Regions from separate parts of the Homo sapiens genome. Here all the other regions are linked to region 2. The links are contacts of gene promoters, found by promoter capture Hi-C in human tissues and cell types (Jung and others, 2019). All regions are on one chromosome and are shown on one strand. Each heading gives the region's core, a stretch centred on a gene start or on the middle of the fragment in contact. The rest is flanking DNA. Distances are from core to core; before and after follow the strand shown. Region 1 overlaps POLN (DNA polymerase nu). Region 2 holds the start of RNF4 (ring finger protein 4). Region 3 overlaps POLN (DNA polymerase nu). Region 4 overlaps TNIP2 (TNFAIP3 interacting protein 2).

Region 1 (3,373 bases), core at 352-2,851, 310 kb after region 2:
TTTTGTAACCCCAAGGACATTTCAGGGTTGGAAGTTTAGGGCCAGCAGCTTGTTGGCCTCTGGAGGAGCAGCGAGTGTTGCATGTTGTGAGTGGAGGCTCCGCCACATTCTTAACTTCACATAGCATTGCTGGAGTTTACACTGATTCTTTTTAACTAATAAAGGGCTCCATTTCCTCTACATGGAATCAGACTGGAACTGTGACTGGAAGACTTTCAGCCAAGCATCCTGTAAGTTGTTTAAACAACTGTCTTTGTTAAACGCCATTTTCCTGCCTTGCTATTGAAGTTTTTTCTCCATATGTGTTTGCCTGTGCACTTTCTGTTTCCAAGAGGGGACTTCATACTGATATGTTGTGTTTTATTCTGTTTATTCTGAGAACATAGCAGGAGAACAAGACAGATGGGTTCTCTTCTCATGAAGTGCTGAGTTAGCAAGAGGGGGGCTTCACACCCAGAAACCCATGCACTCCAGTGTGCAGGCAAAAAGGACACCCGTACCCCATCTTCCTTTTCAGATTTGTGCCAGACAGGTGGCTTCTGATTTCCAGAAATGTGTTGAAGTATCTGATGCTATGATGAACAGCTCCATTTTTTGGTGGTTGTTGAAGCTGTATCTCTGATGAAGAAAAAAAAAAAAAAAGCTCTAAATTCCCTTGAACTTATGATGCAGCTTGCATCACACTTAAAGCACTTAACTTTCTAAATGGCTCTGTATTTTGAACTAAAAAAGACTCATGATTAATTTCTCATTATAGAAAATTCCTTAGATACAGAAAAGAAATAAAAATAGTAATAAGTCACTTGTTATCCACTGTGCAGAACTGTGGTATCTATCTTTCCACACTTTTTGCTAAGCACATATATTTATAAAATACAATTTTTTAGGCCAGGCGCGGTGGCTCATGCCTGTAATCCCAGCACTTTGGGAGGCCGAGGCGGTGGATCATGAGGTCAGGAGTTCAAGACCAGCCTGGCCAATATGGTGAAACCCCGTCTCTACTAAAAACACAAAAATTAGCTGGGCGTGGTGGCGGGTGCCTGTAGTCTCAGGTACTAGGGAGGCTGAGGCAGGAAAATGGTGTGAACCCAGGAGGCGGAGCTTGCAGTGAGCCGAGATAACGCCACTGCACTCCAGCCTGGGTGACAGAGCGAGACTCTGTCAAAAAAAAAATACAATTTTTTTCTACAAAAATAAAGCCATGCTATTTTATATTATGCTTTCTTATTTTAACATCTCTTGATATCATTCTACATTAATATTGATTTGAATCTATATTTAAATTTAAATATATGAATTAAATATGTGAATTATTTAAGTACACACTAACATATATATATAAATATGAATATGTATTCATGGTAAAGAAATACAAGTATGTGGAGGTTTACAGAATGAGCAAATGTTAGTCATCTTTCCCTTCCCTCCGTAACATGTGTCTGTCCCGTGGGTTCCCTCCATTAAGGGTCAGGCCTTCACCCAGGCATTTGCATAGATGGTGTACCGAGTGCATGCAGGCAGAGGGACACACTCAGGTGACTGTGTGAGGAAGAGGAAGAGAGGCTGGGATGGGGTGAGTTTGCGCTAATCGTGTGGCCTCTTGGGTGCATGGACACCCACTCTTGGTCAGTCAGCTCTCGGGCTGCCAGCTGTCTCTGGCCTTGCACTTTAGGGAGCTCTTCTGGGGTCTTTATCTAGCGAAGAGTGGTAGTAATAGCAATAGTAATGTGAATACCAATACCAGCACCAATATCCATGTGAATACCAGTGCCATCTCCTCTGAATGCAGGCACTGCTGCCACGTTACCCTTGGGCTAATTTCTCAACCAACCACAACTGCTGTAGTTTCTCTTAGTTGATACTTCTTATCTAAGAGTTATTTAGGAATTCTGCTGAGAAACTTTTCGTGGAGGTCCTTGCTTTTGTTTTTATGCAGTTATAAGTTTCTTTTTCCATTACATTTTCAGTAAATCTCTTGCTGTGTTTTATTCTCTTCCAGAAGTTTCTGAAGGGTCTGGTTTGTGAGTAGCACTCCTCCCAGGTTCTCAGTGAAGCTCTAATTTTACCTATTTATTTTTCTGTTATTTCAGTTGAACTTTTGGAAAGATGAGATGTAAACATAACATGTGCATTCAGCCATGACCTTTAACTGGAAGTTTGTGTCATCTTTTTAACAGCTGCATTGTATTCCATTTAATGGCTGCCCCTATTGATGGTCATTTAGATTGTTTGCAGTTTTAATTATTTTATAGAAATACCATAAACATACCTGTACTTTATCATAGCAATACCATACAAACTTCAATAGCAATACCATAACCAATACCATGAACATTTTTGGTACTTTTTTCTGTTGATTTCTATAGTGCAATTTCCTAGAGATAGAATTTCTGAGTCACAGTATATATGTATTTTTAAGGCTTTATGTTGCCAAATTAGCCTCTCGCCAAAAATAACATTCCCACCACATAGTATGTGAAATGCTTGGTCCCTTAATCCTTGCCAACACAAGGAATTTTCGTTTTGATTACTTTCCTGACTCATTTTTTCAATTTCCATTTCTTTAAATATTTGTTGAGGTTGACTACATGAAACAATTATTCTTCTTTGAATTGCCTGTTCATGTCATTTGCCCATTTCTCTGGAGGGTGTTTATTTTTTCCTATTGGTATGGAAAAGCTCTTTATATAATAAAAATTAACCCTTTATGAAATGTTGAATTATTTTCCTCCAATTTTCTTTTGCCTTTTAACTTTTAAGATATATATTCTGGTTTGCCATACTTAAAATGTCTTTTTTTTTTTTTTTTTTTTTTTTTTGTTGAGATGGAGTCTCGCTGTCGCCCAGGCTGGAGTGCAGTGGCGTGATCTCAGCTCACTGCAAGCTCTGCCTCACTGGTTCATGCCATTCTCCTGCCTCAGCCTCCCGAGTAGCTAGGACTACAGGCACCCGCCACCACGCCCGGCTAATTTTTTTGTATTCTTAGTAGAGATAGGGTTTCACCATGTTAGCCAGGATGGTCTCAATCTCCTGACCTTGTGATCCGCCCGCCTCGGCCTCCCAAAGTGCTGGGATTGCAGGTATGAGCCACCGCGCCTGGCCTTAAAATGGCTTTTTAAAATTATACAAATAACAGCCGGGTGCAGTGGCTCACACCTGTAATCCCAGCACTCTGGGAGGCTGAGGTGGGTGGATCACAAGGTCAGGAGATCGAGAACATTCTGGCTTACACAGTGAAACCCCGTCTCTGCTAAACATGCAAAAAAAATTAGCCGGGCGTGGTAGTGGGCGCCTGTGGTCCCAGCTACTTGGGAGGCTGAGGCAGGAGAATGGTGTGAAGCTGGGAGCAGAGCTTGCAGTGAGCTGAGATGGC
Region 2 (3,339 bases), core at 524-3,023:
GACTTGCTCGATGAATCCTTGCTATAAACCTTCACCTTGCAAAAAAAAAAAGGCAGTATTTGCAAAACACAATAAAATGAGTTATCTCTTATTCCCTCCATCCTCACCCAGCTACAGGAGGACCACGACTGTTTACTGCTGTATTCCAAGCAGAAAGGTTGGCATACAGGAGACCTCAAAAATACGCTACTTTGATCTTGAGGAGAGTGAAAAATCTTACTCATTTTATGTACAAAGCACAGATGTGCATACATTATATAAAAAGAAATAGTTTACGTATGGCATTAAGATTTCATGAAGATTAGAAAAACAATGTTTACAAAAGGTCCTTACAAAGGTAGTAATTCAAGAAAAGATCAATAAACGATGTGTTAAAGTAAGATTTTTGGAAGCTCAAATTCAGGCAATACAAAAGCCAGCAATATATCTTGCTACTCGAATGCCTCTATTTCACCTCAAACTCACAGATAAAACTGAACCCAATATGTCCTTGTCCATTAAAAAGCAAATCACCAAGAAAGTAACAAAAGATTCCCTTCAATGTCTCTTTTATTGACAGTGGTCCCAAAACTCCTGGTCAATGAATTCAAAACCCAAATCTTGCAGGTAGGACTTAACCTCATCTGCTGCCAAATAGCTGGCTATGTGACCTTGGGCAGACCACTTCACTTTTCTGGACCTCAGTCTCCCCAGTCAGTTGGACAGTCTAAGCCAGGCTCCAGAGCTGAGACCCTACGTCTGGCTCAAGAACTTGGTGCAGAAACAGAACGAAGATTATTAAGTTTGTGAACGTCTATGGGAACTGACAAGTGAAAGACAAAAGCTGAAATCCCTACCAAAACGGCTTGCCCAAGCTCTATCCTTTTCCCTCTTCCCTCGATGGATCAAAGGCGGAAAAGCGGTGTTTACTAGCAACTCTGTTTCGGGTCGTGAGAATCTTCATACACCTGTCTATAGGCGCGCCAGAGCGGTGAAGGGCCCGAGCGGTGCAGGGCTGGGCCGCAAGCCTCACAGTCGCACGTTCCACCAACCACCAGCCGGGGCCCGGAAGCGCGCCCGGAAATCGAGGCCCTACTAAGTTTTAGACTGCGACCTCGGCGCCCCCACGGTCAGGCCCGCACCCGTACTCAGATCCTCCCGACCTACAAAAGGCCCCGCCACGCGGCCCACGCACCCCGGCAAACTCGCAGGCCCCACGATGGCGGGGCGGCGGCGCGAACACACAAAGGAGGCGTCGTCAGCGGGGAACAAAAACCCTGCCCGGGTCTTCCCCCTAACAGCACATCCTGCCCGACTTTCCAAGTGACCTTGGGGGCGTTCCTGCCCCTCCCAGAGTCTCAGTTTCCCTTCCTAGGCTAGGAACTAAGCCCCATGGCCGCGGCCCCCCAGGGTGAGCCGAGACCCAGACGCAGACCTCCTAACTTCTGTTGCCCGCGCCAAGCCGGGCTCGGTGCGCCCGCGCGGACGGCAGTGCGAGCGACCAGAGCTGGCTCGAGGTCCCGGGCTGCAAAGCCTCGGCTGGGTCAAGCCGCGCAGCGCGGCTCCCCCAAGAGGCGCGGGCCGAGGCCTCTGTAGGCCGCGAAGCTGCCTAAACCTCGCATCTGCAAGGCCCTGACTTACCGCTGCTTTCCCGCAAAGCTCGGCCTAACCTGGAGCTAGTTAGGTCCGCAGGCGCCACCGCCGGCGCACTCCGGAGAAGAAGCTCCTTCTTCAGCCGCCCAGGAGAGCTCCTCGAGAAAGATGCCGCCGCCTCAACAGCAACCCACTTCCGCTTCGGAGGCCTCGGCTCCGCCCCCCATCATGTCCCCATTGGCCGCCCGCCTACTCTACTTCCGCGGTCGGCCGGGTAAGGACAAATTTTTTAATCCTATTGGATAAGAAAACCATCTGTTACCACTTTAAAACGCGCCTCTTTCCGCCCCCGCCCACAATCGAGCGCACTAACTCGCACCTTCCGGCAAGAGACGGCGCGGGCGCGCCCCGCCCGCAAGGTTTTTCGGGAGTCACGGTCTGAGGGCGACCCGGGCGACCCGGTCGCCCGTGCCCGGCTGCCACTGACCGCTCCAACGCCGCCAGGGACGACCCGCCAGCTGCCTCCGGAGCCGAGCAGGCCCCGAACCTTCCCATTCCTAGATTTCCAGCCGCACAACAGCCGCGGTGCCCCTGGCTCGACGCAGCTGGCCGGAGGCGCGGAGCTGGTCGTTCGTCCCGCCCGCCGTTCCGCGCCCCTCTCCCGGCTCTTGTTTCCTCGCCTCTTAACGAGGCCTTTGTGAGGAAGGTTGCTGGGCCTTGGGACTCTGACGATCGGCTGGAAACCAGGCCTGGCCCTGTTTCAGCATCCCCGCGTGCCAAGCCCTGGGCCGGCGTGCGGGTCCCTGCCCCTGCGAGGAAGCTGGGACTTTTGCAGGCCTGGGTGGAGACGTGTACATAACAGAGGAAGAGTGTGGAGGATTGGAGGACTCAGGGCAGCACGGCAGAGGTGCATGCAGGTCCCCGGTCGGACTGGAGAATGGGCGGTGGGTTTCTTGAGCTCCAGTCCCTGAGCTCGACTTTGACGTGGGTTTAGCAACCAGGAAAAAAGCCCACCTTGTCCCTGCTGCCTGAGAATACCCAGACCTTAGTCCATGGCCAGCATCTCTGGTCCCTCGGCACCCTCAGGCAACGTGAAGGTCACCCCAAATGCCTTGGGTTACATTGTTTCCTTACAGTGAGTTTGTTTGTTTTAGTGGCGCGATCTCGGCTCACTGCAAGCTCTAACCTCCTGGGTTCACGTGATTCTCCTGCCTCAGCCTCCCGAATAGCTGGGATTACAGGCGCCTGCCACCACGCCCGGCTAATTTTCTTTGTATTTTTAGTAGAGATGGAGTTCCATCATGTTGGCCAGGCTGGTCTCGAGCTCCTGACCTCAGGTGATCCACCCTCCTTGGCCTCCAAAAGTGCTGGGATTACTGGTGTGAGCCACCTCGCCCGGCCACCTTACAGTGAGTTTCTAACCTCGAAAATGGAGTCAAATAACGGAATGACAAGGCAGATAGAAACCAGAGCATTAACGTTTTTGTGTTGCATTTACAAACAATATGTGTTTGCTATTTTTCGTAATTGTAAGGAAATCTGGCATGGTAGAGTATCTGATAGATAAATGTAATTCTCATGTAAAATATCTAAGTATTTGTGTTTTTTGTTTGTTTGTTTGTTTGTTTTGAGACGGAGTCTCGCTCTGTCGCCCAGGCTGGAGTGCAGTGGCGCGATCTCGGCTCACTGCAAGCTCCGCATCCCGGGTTCACGCCATTCTCCTGCCTCAGCCTCCCAAGTAGCTGGGACTACAGGCGCCCGCCACCA
Region 3 (3,313 bases), core at 354-2,853, 270 kb after region 2:
GCCCCTCCGCTGTCTTCAACCTCACCTCCTCCTCTCTCCCGGCCTCTCAGTGCATTCCCACCTCCTTGCCGTTCCTGACCATGTGGTGTGCGCCTCTACCCAAGGGCCTGGTGCCACCATCCCTCCCTGCAGCATTCTCCCAAATAGCTGCATGGTTTACTGCCTCATTCCTTTATGTTTTTCTCTGAACAAACAAAAAGTAAACTATGAAAACACAAAGGTACAGAGTAGTATATACATCCACCCAGGCCAACATTATCAAAGGTTTTTCCTTACTTCCTTCTGTCCCTTTCCTGGGGAAGGGGGAGAGGACTGGGATTAAAGAAATTCCCAATCTATTGTTTTGCCCTCTCATGACTCTAAAAACCATGGGCTTTTTTTTTTTTTTTCCAGAGCCACAGTGCCATTTTTAAACTTAACAAGTTGTGTACGCAGTCCAAATTTGAAGCTACCTGATTGTCTCAAAAATGTCCTTCTACAGTTGACTTGTTGGGATCAGGACATAGCATTGGGTGGCCATGTCCCTAGTTTTTTCTAATCTGGAGCGTTCCTCAGCCCCTCTCCCTATCTTGGAGGAGGTCCCGTGTCCTGGATTCATTTGTTTGCCTCATCATGAAGTTCTTTCACTTGTTCTGTCTCCTCTTCTCCATATTTTCTGTAAACTGGAGTTAGCTCTAAATGCTTGATTATTTGGGTCCAGCTTGTTTTGCGCAGCACTTCCTAGGTGGAGCTGTAAGCTTCATACTCCATCTGTGATGCAGTTGGATGGCCGGATTTAGCAAATTAAAATATAGGACACTAAATTTGAGTTTCAGATAAATAACTAATTTCTTAGTATACGTATGTCCCAAATATTGCATGGGACATACTTATACTAGAAGAATACATCCCTAAAAAATATTCGATTTTTTTCAGATAATTATTCATGATTTTTCTGAAATTCAGACTTAACTGGTATCCTCCTGACTTCCCTTAGTGATGCAATTGGGTTGTCCCAGTTTTCATGGTGCTGAGAGGGAGCAGTGGGTTCAGGTGGTGTCAACACGATCCCTTCCTTATAAACTTCTCCCCCAAACTTTCCCTTAATGGTTTTGTCCATTGATTAGGATCATCTAAATCACTTATTTAATTCCGGCTAGTAAGATGGTGATTTTTCTAATTCTATCATTTCTTCCACATTTAGTGGCTAAAATTTCCTGTAAAGAACTTTCCTCTACCAACTAGGCTTTTGTTTACCTTATCCTTCATGTCTTTCCTCAAGAGTTACCTTGGCTAGGAACAGTGGCTCAGGCTGAGGTGGGAGGATGGCTTGAGGCTGGAGTTTGAGACTAGCCTGAGCAACATAGTGAGACCCAATCTCTACAAAAAATTTAAAAATTACCCGGGTACAGTGGCATGTGCCTATAGTTCCAGCTACTCTAGAGGCTGATGTTGGAGGATCGCTTGGGTCCAGCAGTTTGAGCCTGCAGTGAGCTGTGATTGCACTACTGCACTCTAGCCTGGATGACAGAGTGAGGCCCTGTCTTAAAAAAAAAAAAAAAAGAATTACCAAGCTAAAAAAAAAAAAACAGAATTACCTTATCAGACCTTCCTTGACCACCCTGTATGAGATGGTACCCCACTGCCAACCCCACCACATGACTTTCATTTGTGTTCAGTAGTGTGTTCATTAATGTATCCCCAATATCTAAGAACAATGCTACAAAGCAAGTGCTTAATCAATATTTATTCAATATTATCATTGAATGAATGAATGTTGAGGCTTAATTTTTATAAGTTCTAGGACAATCAAATTAATACATTGCCTCAAGTACCATAAATTGGAAATAATAATCCCAATCCTATGATTATATCTTTGAGATTCAAAATAAATTTAAATAAATCACATTTAAATTAGCACACATACTTTTTTGCACAAAAACATGTTTAATAACATTTATTAAATGACCTGTGCAAGGCCTTTCACATACACACTCTCCCTTCACCTTCACATTCTCTCTGTACGTTTGTTATACCTTATTCACTCCATTTTACAGAGGAGGAAGCCTCAAATCTAGCTTTTATATATATAAATATATATATGTATGTGTGCATGTATATACATATACATAAATACATGTTTTATTTTAAGAGCCAGAGTCTCTCTTTGTCGCCCAGGTTGGAGTGCAGTGGTTGTGATCATGACTCATTGCAGCCTCAACCTCCCAGGCTCAAGTGATTCTCCCTCCTCAGCAACCTCACCCCAGTAGCTAGGACTTTAGGACTACAGGCATGCACCACCACGCCTGGCTAATTGCCATTTAGCTTACAAGGTATTCTTTTTGTTGTTTGTTTTATCAAGATAAAAATAATCTCTTATTAGCGGAAGATAGTGTAGTTGGTAGATTACCTCATCACAGAACTCTTGAGTTTCAAGGATGAAGGAGCAGTAAAGGGAAGTGATCTCCATGGCCCCAGTTCTTCTCCTTCATAAGCTCTTTACTCCCTCTTGGACACCCTCCTCACCGGTCCAGCCAAGCCAAGATCTGAAGCTGTGTTATTGGCGCTTTACCCTCCCTACCATCCTGGTCGCCCTTTTCAAGGGAAACCAAGGTGAAATCACACAAAGTGCAAAAGGCCTACAAATGTCTTTCTGTGGAACAAGTCCAAGCAAAATCTAACTGCAGTTTGGCTAAGTGTGCAAAGCTCATTAGGCTCTTGATTTCTTTCTTCCTCAGCTCTAACCAAAGAATCTTAATGTGTTAATGAACATTTACTATAAAGAGGGATTGATGGCTTTGGTAGCTTAGAGTTTGGACCCTGGCAGCAGGAAGATATGGTCTCAGATCCCAGCATTGCCATTTGTTAGTCATTTAACCCTGGCCAAATTGCTTAACCTCTTCAAGACTAAGTTTTCTCATCTGTAAAATGGTTCTAGTGCATGCCAGATAGGATAGTGATGAGGTTTCAGTGCAACAATCACTTCACACACAATGCTGCGAAGTGTCCAGCGTGGTATCTGGCACATGGTAAGTATTCAGTCAATTTTAACAATTGTGAGTCCCATATTCAAAGTGCTTATGGTGTAATGGAGAGACAAACGTTCAAGGCACATTATAATACAGCAAGTGTACTTCCCACTGTACTACATGTGTGGATAGGAGTACAGAAGAGATACAGAAGAGGGAGCAGCCCCCTGCCTGGGGAATTAGGGCATACCTTCCTGAAGATGGCCCTTGAACAGTTTGTGAAAACTGTGGGAAGAGAATTGTAGTCAAGAATACAGTATATACAGTGACCCAGGAGCAAAGCAGGACGTGGCACAGCCTGTGGT
Region 4 (3,028 bases), core at 110-2,609, 280 kb before region 2:
CCCGATTGTCTGCAGACAGGACAGTGTCATGGGCTCCAAAGGAGGTAAGCAGGGTGCATGGCCAGGCCCACCCTGGGCAGCTGGGGGCCCCCTCACTGGAGATCCTCTGGTTTACAATGGGATTCAGCTTCCTGCCTTCCCTGCTGTCTGTGATAATGGCAAATCTCTGGCAATGAGAAGACTTTATCATGTCTGGTGTGCCAATCCCTGCAGACATTATGGCTTTAGAATATTTACATTCCAAATATTTAAAAGACAAACAGCTCAAACTGGTAGGTGGGACGGGATAAGGACAGTGTGAAAGGTGGTGTGGCCTGAAGACCTCCCATCCGGGCTCTGGCCTGGGCCAGGTGGGGTGGGCCTGGGCAGGGAGAAGGTGGTCCCTTGTCCCTGCTTTGCTTCTCTACCAAATGAATGATCACTACCCGCTGCACTGGGGGACGCAGTGATAATCTGTGGCCTCAGCCTCTGGGTCTAGCTTTCTCCCCTCTTGCTGTATGTGACAGAGTGTCTTCTCTCTGTCCCTTCCTCATGCAGTCGGAACACACAGATGGGCACACCTCTGTCCAGAGTGTTATTGAGAAGTTGCAGGAAGAAAATCGACTGTTAAAACAGAAGGTGACTCACGTGAGTGTCTTTCACATTTCGTTTGAGAAGAACACATGGCTTACAAACTGTAAGTGAGGGTTCTTTCCTTGGCTGATGCCCAGAGTCGCCCCCCGCCCTCTGGCCACTAGGACTTGATACACACAGTCCCTAGAGACTGGACTTTTTTGCTTAAAACGACGTACGGGACATGTCCTGTCCATCTCCATCCCCCTAAAATTAATCCACAAGTCAGTAAAGGAGATGCAAGAGTTAGCAGCAGGAGGTCCATTTTCTAAGACAGCAAAGCTGCACCGAGTCCACCTCCGTTCATGCTGCTTGCGTACGGGTGTCATCGTGCTGCCTCAGGATTCTCTAGCGGGCCTAGTGTCTGCTCTCTACAGAACAGGGAGGGGCAGCTTCCATTTAAGAGGAAACTCTCACTCAGCGAATCACTGCTAATACATAATTCACACTGGGTGCTGGCTTGAGCAGCTTTGTCAGCTGCCTTCACCGTGAGCTTTCCGGCTCCACCTCTTCAGGTTGAAGACCTCAATGCCAAGTGGCAGCGCTACAACGCCAGCAGGGACGAATACGTGAGGGGGCTCCATGCGCAGCTCAGGGGGCTGCAGATCCCCCACGAGCCCGAGCTGATGAGGAAGGAGATCTCCCGGCTCAACAGACAGTTGGAAGAGAAAATAAATGACTGTGCCGAAGTGAAGCAGGAGCTGGCGGCCTCCAGGACGGCCCGGGATGCTGCGTTGGAGCGGGTGCAGATGCTGGAACAGCAGGTGTCTGTCCCTCGGGCTCCGGACGGCACTGACCAGATGTCTGCTGGCCGGTGGTGGCCGAAATCATGGGACAGGCTGGGCTGAAGGCTTGGTGGCACTGAGTGGGCAGTGGTCACTGTGGGGGTGGGAGAAGCCTGGTGGGGCGCTTCCTCCTTCCTTGAGCAGAAATGTGTGTCTCGCCTCTCTTCAGATTCTCGCTTACAAGGATGACTTCATGTCAGAAAGGGCCGATCGGGAACGGGCTCAAAGTAGGATTCAAGAACTGGAGGAAAAGGTCGCCTCTTTGCTGCACCAGGTGTCCTGGAGACAGGTAGAGTATGAGGGCGTTTTTCTTCCTGCTTAGGTTTAGTGTTTTTGTTTCTCTTCTCATGAGATTAGAGCCTTTCTGTGTCTGCCAAGGCCCTGATTTGCTGGTGATGAGGGTTGTGGCGAGCCCCTCCCTGCTGTGGGGAGAGCCACCTGGCCTGGTACCTGGGCGTGGTCATGGAAAGCCTCCCTGTTATACTGTTTAGTTATGGAGGAGGCTGGCATGGCGGCCTGTCTTAGCAGAGGTGGCTGTCCTCAGGGCCCGTCCGTCACTGTCATGCAGTCAGAGAGCATATCTCGGGCCTCAAAGTGTGAGCTCCCTACGTGTCCTGACCTGTCTGTGAGACGGGAACCCCGCTTACCTTGTCATGTAGATGTGATGGCCCTGGGTGTCCAGTAACATCCCCAGCTCAGCCTGGCACGTGGAGCTGGGCCTTGCAGGGCAGGGGCCCCTCACCCCACCCCTGGGCTCAGTGCTTTTCCTACCATGGGGTGCCTTGAGGGAGGCCTGGCATGAATGGGAACCGATGAAGTTCCTCAGTGTGTGACCCATGGCCTCTTCCTTCTCCTCACTGACTTGTGCTCTGCAAAAATCCAGGAGAAGTTTATGTAGCTCCTCATCAAGTACCTAACACACTTTTGGCCCTGGGAATAGCCTGGGCCCCACTCAAAGAGCTTCCTCTCCTGGCACAGACTGAACAGTAGTGATGCCTCTTGAGAATCGATGCGTCCCGGGCTGGAGCTAGGACGTCAGCCGTGTTTCAGGGTGTGAACAGGGACCCTGGGGCTGTGAGGCCACCCCCCACTGCCCTGTTCCGAGCAGCCACTGGGCCTCAGTGGTTTCTGCTTCTCCTCCGCATGAAGGGCACGGGAGAGTCATGGTGGACTATGGGACTAACCCTGGGACTAAGTCTGCAGCAGAGGGCTGGACAGGTTTTTCTGGCCTTCATGAATTCAAGGAAGCATGTGATTTGGATTGAAGGAGCACTATTGGTACAATCGTGAGGATGGTCTCAGGCCGCCTCTTGAAGATTTTGGACCAGATGAACTGGTTCCAGACTTGCAGGCCCAGATTCTTACCCCCGGGGGTAAAGTTCCTGGTGGGGCCTGCAGACCTTGTACTAAGTGGCCTCTGGTTCCCTTTCAACAGTAGCCTGTGGCCCCTCGAGGGTTGCTCAGTCCCTAGATGGCACAGCCAGGGACAGTGGTGCTGAAGGCATGGGTGATAAGCTGTAGTCCCACTGGGGAAAGTCCACATTCAGACAGGAAGTGGAAGCACCAAGGCCTGCTGGAATGAAGTTCCCAGGCAAGCAGTGAGGGCCACAGGCTGCAGTGCTTCAGGACGG

The links. The method cuts DNA at HindIII sites, captures the fragments that hold promoters and counts their contacts. A contact is called where the count stands out against the background at its distance.
Region 1: a contact is called between a fragment that was not itself captured here and the fragment with the promoter of RNF4 in region 2, in 3 of the 25 tissues and cell types used here (H1 embryonic stem cells, IMR-90 fibroblasts and aorta).
Region 3: a fragment that was not itself captured here is called in contact with the fragment with the promoter of RNF4 in region 2 in 2 of the 25 tissues and cell types used here (dorsolateral prefrontal cortex and mesendoderm cells).
Region 4: a contact is called between a fragment that was not itself captured here and the fragment with the promoter of RNF4 in region 2, in 1 of the 25 tissues and cell types used here (dorsolateral prefrontal cortex).

What each region holds. Positions count from the first base shown.
Region 1 is chr4:2,153,645-2,157,017 of GRCh38, reverse strand. It overlaps POLN (DNA polymerase nu), which reads left to right. Exons shown (of 26, transcript NM_181808.4): 16 at 165-230. Among named protein-coding and RNA genes, the nearest start is that of HAUS3, 87 kb to the left of the region's middle. The HindIII fragment of the contact is 6,445 bases long and covers 1-3,373 here.
Region 2 is chr4:2,467,540-2,470,878 of GRCh38, reverse strand. It overlaps RNF4 (ring finger protein 4), which reads right to left and starts at 1,773. Exons shown (of 8, transcript NM_002938.5): 1 at 1,621-1,773. LOC107986250 (a long non-coding RNA gene) reads left to right here and starts at 1,928. Exons shown (of 2, transcript XR_001741551.3): 1 at 1,928-2,479. RefSeq lists enhancers at 1,131-1,250, 1,295-1,867, 1,551-1,910 and a silencer at 2,061-2,230. The HindIII fragment of the contact is 20,287 bases long and covers 1-3,339 here.
Region 3 is chr4:2,193,715-2,197,027 of GRCh38, reverse strand. All of the region lies in intron 6 of POLN (DNA polymerase nu), which reads left to right. Among named protein-coding and RNA genes, the nearest start is that of HAUS3, 47 kb to the left of the region's middle. The HindIII fragment of the contact is 7,366 bases long and covers 1-3,313 here.
Region 4 is chr4:2,743,045-2,746,072 of GRCh38, reverse strand. TNIP2 (TNFAIP3 interacting protein 2) reads left to right here. Exons shown (of 6, transcript NM_024309.4): 3 at 538-627; 4 at 1,128-1,376; 5 at 1,567-1,686. Among named protein-coding and RNA genes, the nearest start is that of TNIP2, 12 kb to the left of the region's middle. RefSeq lists enhancers at 1-135, 731-1,231. The HindIII fragment of the contact is 7,933 bases long and covers 1-3,028 here.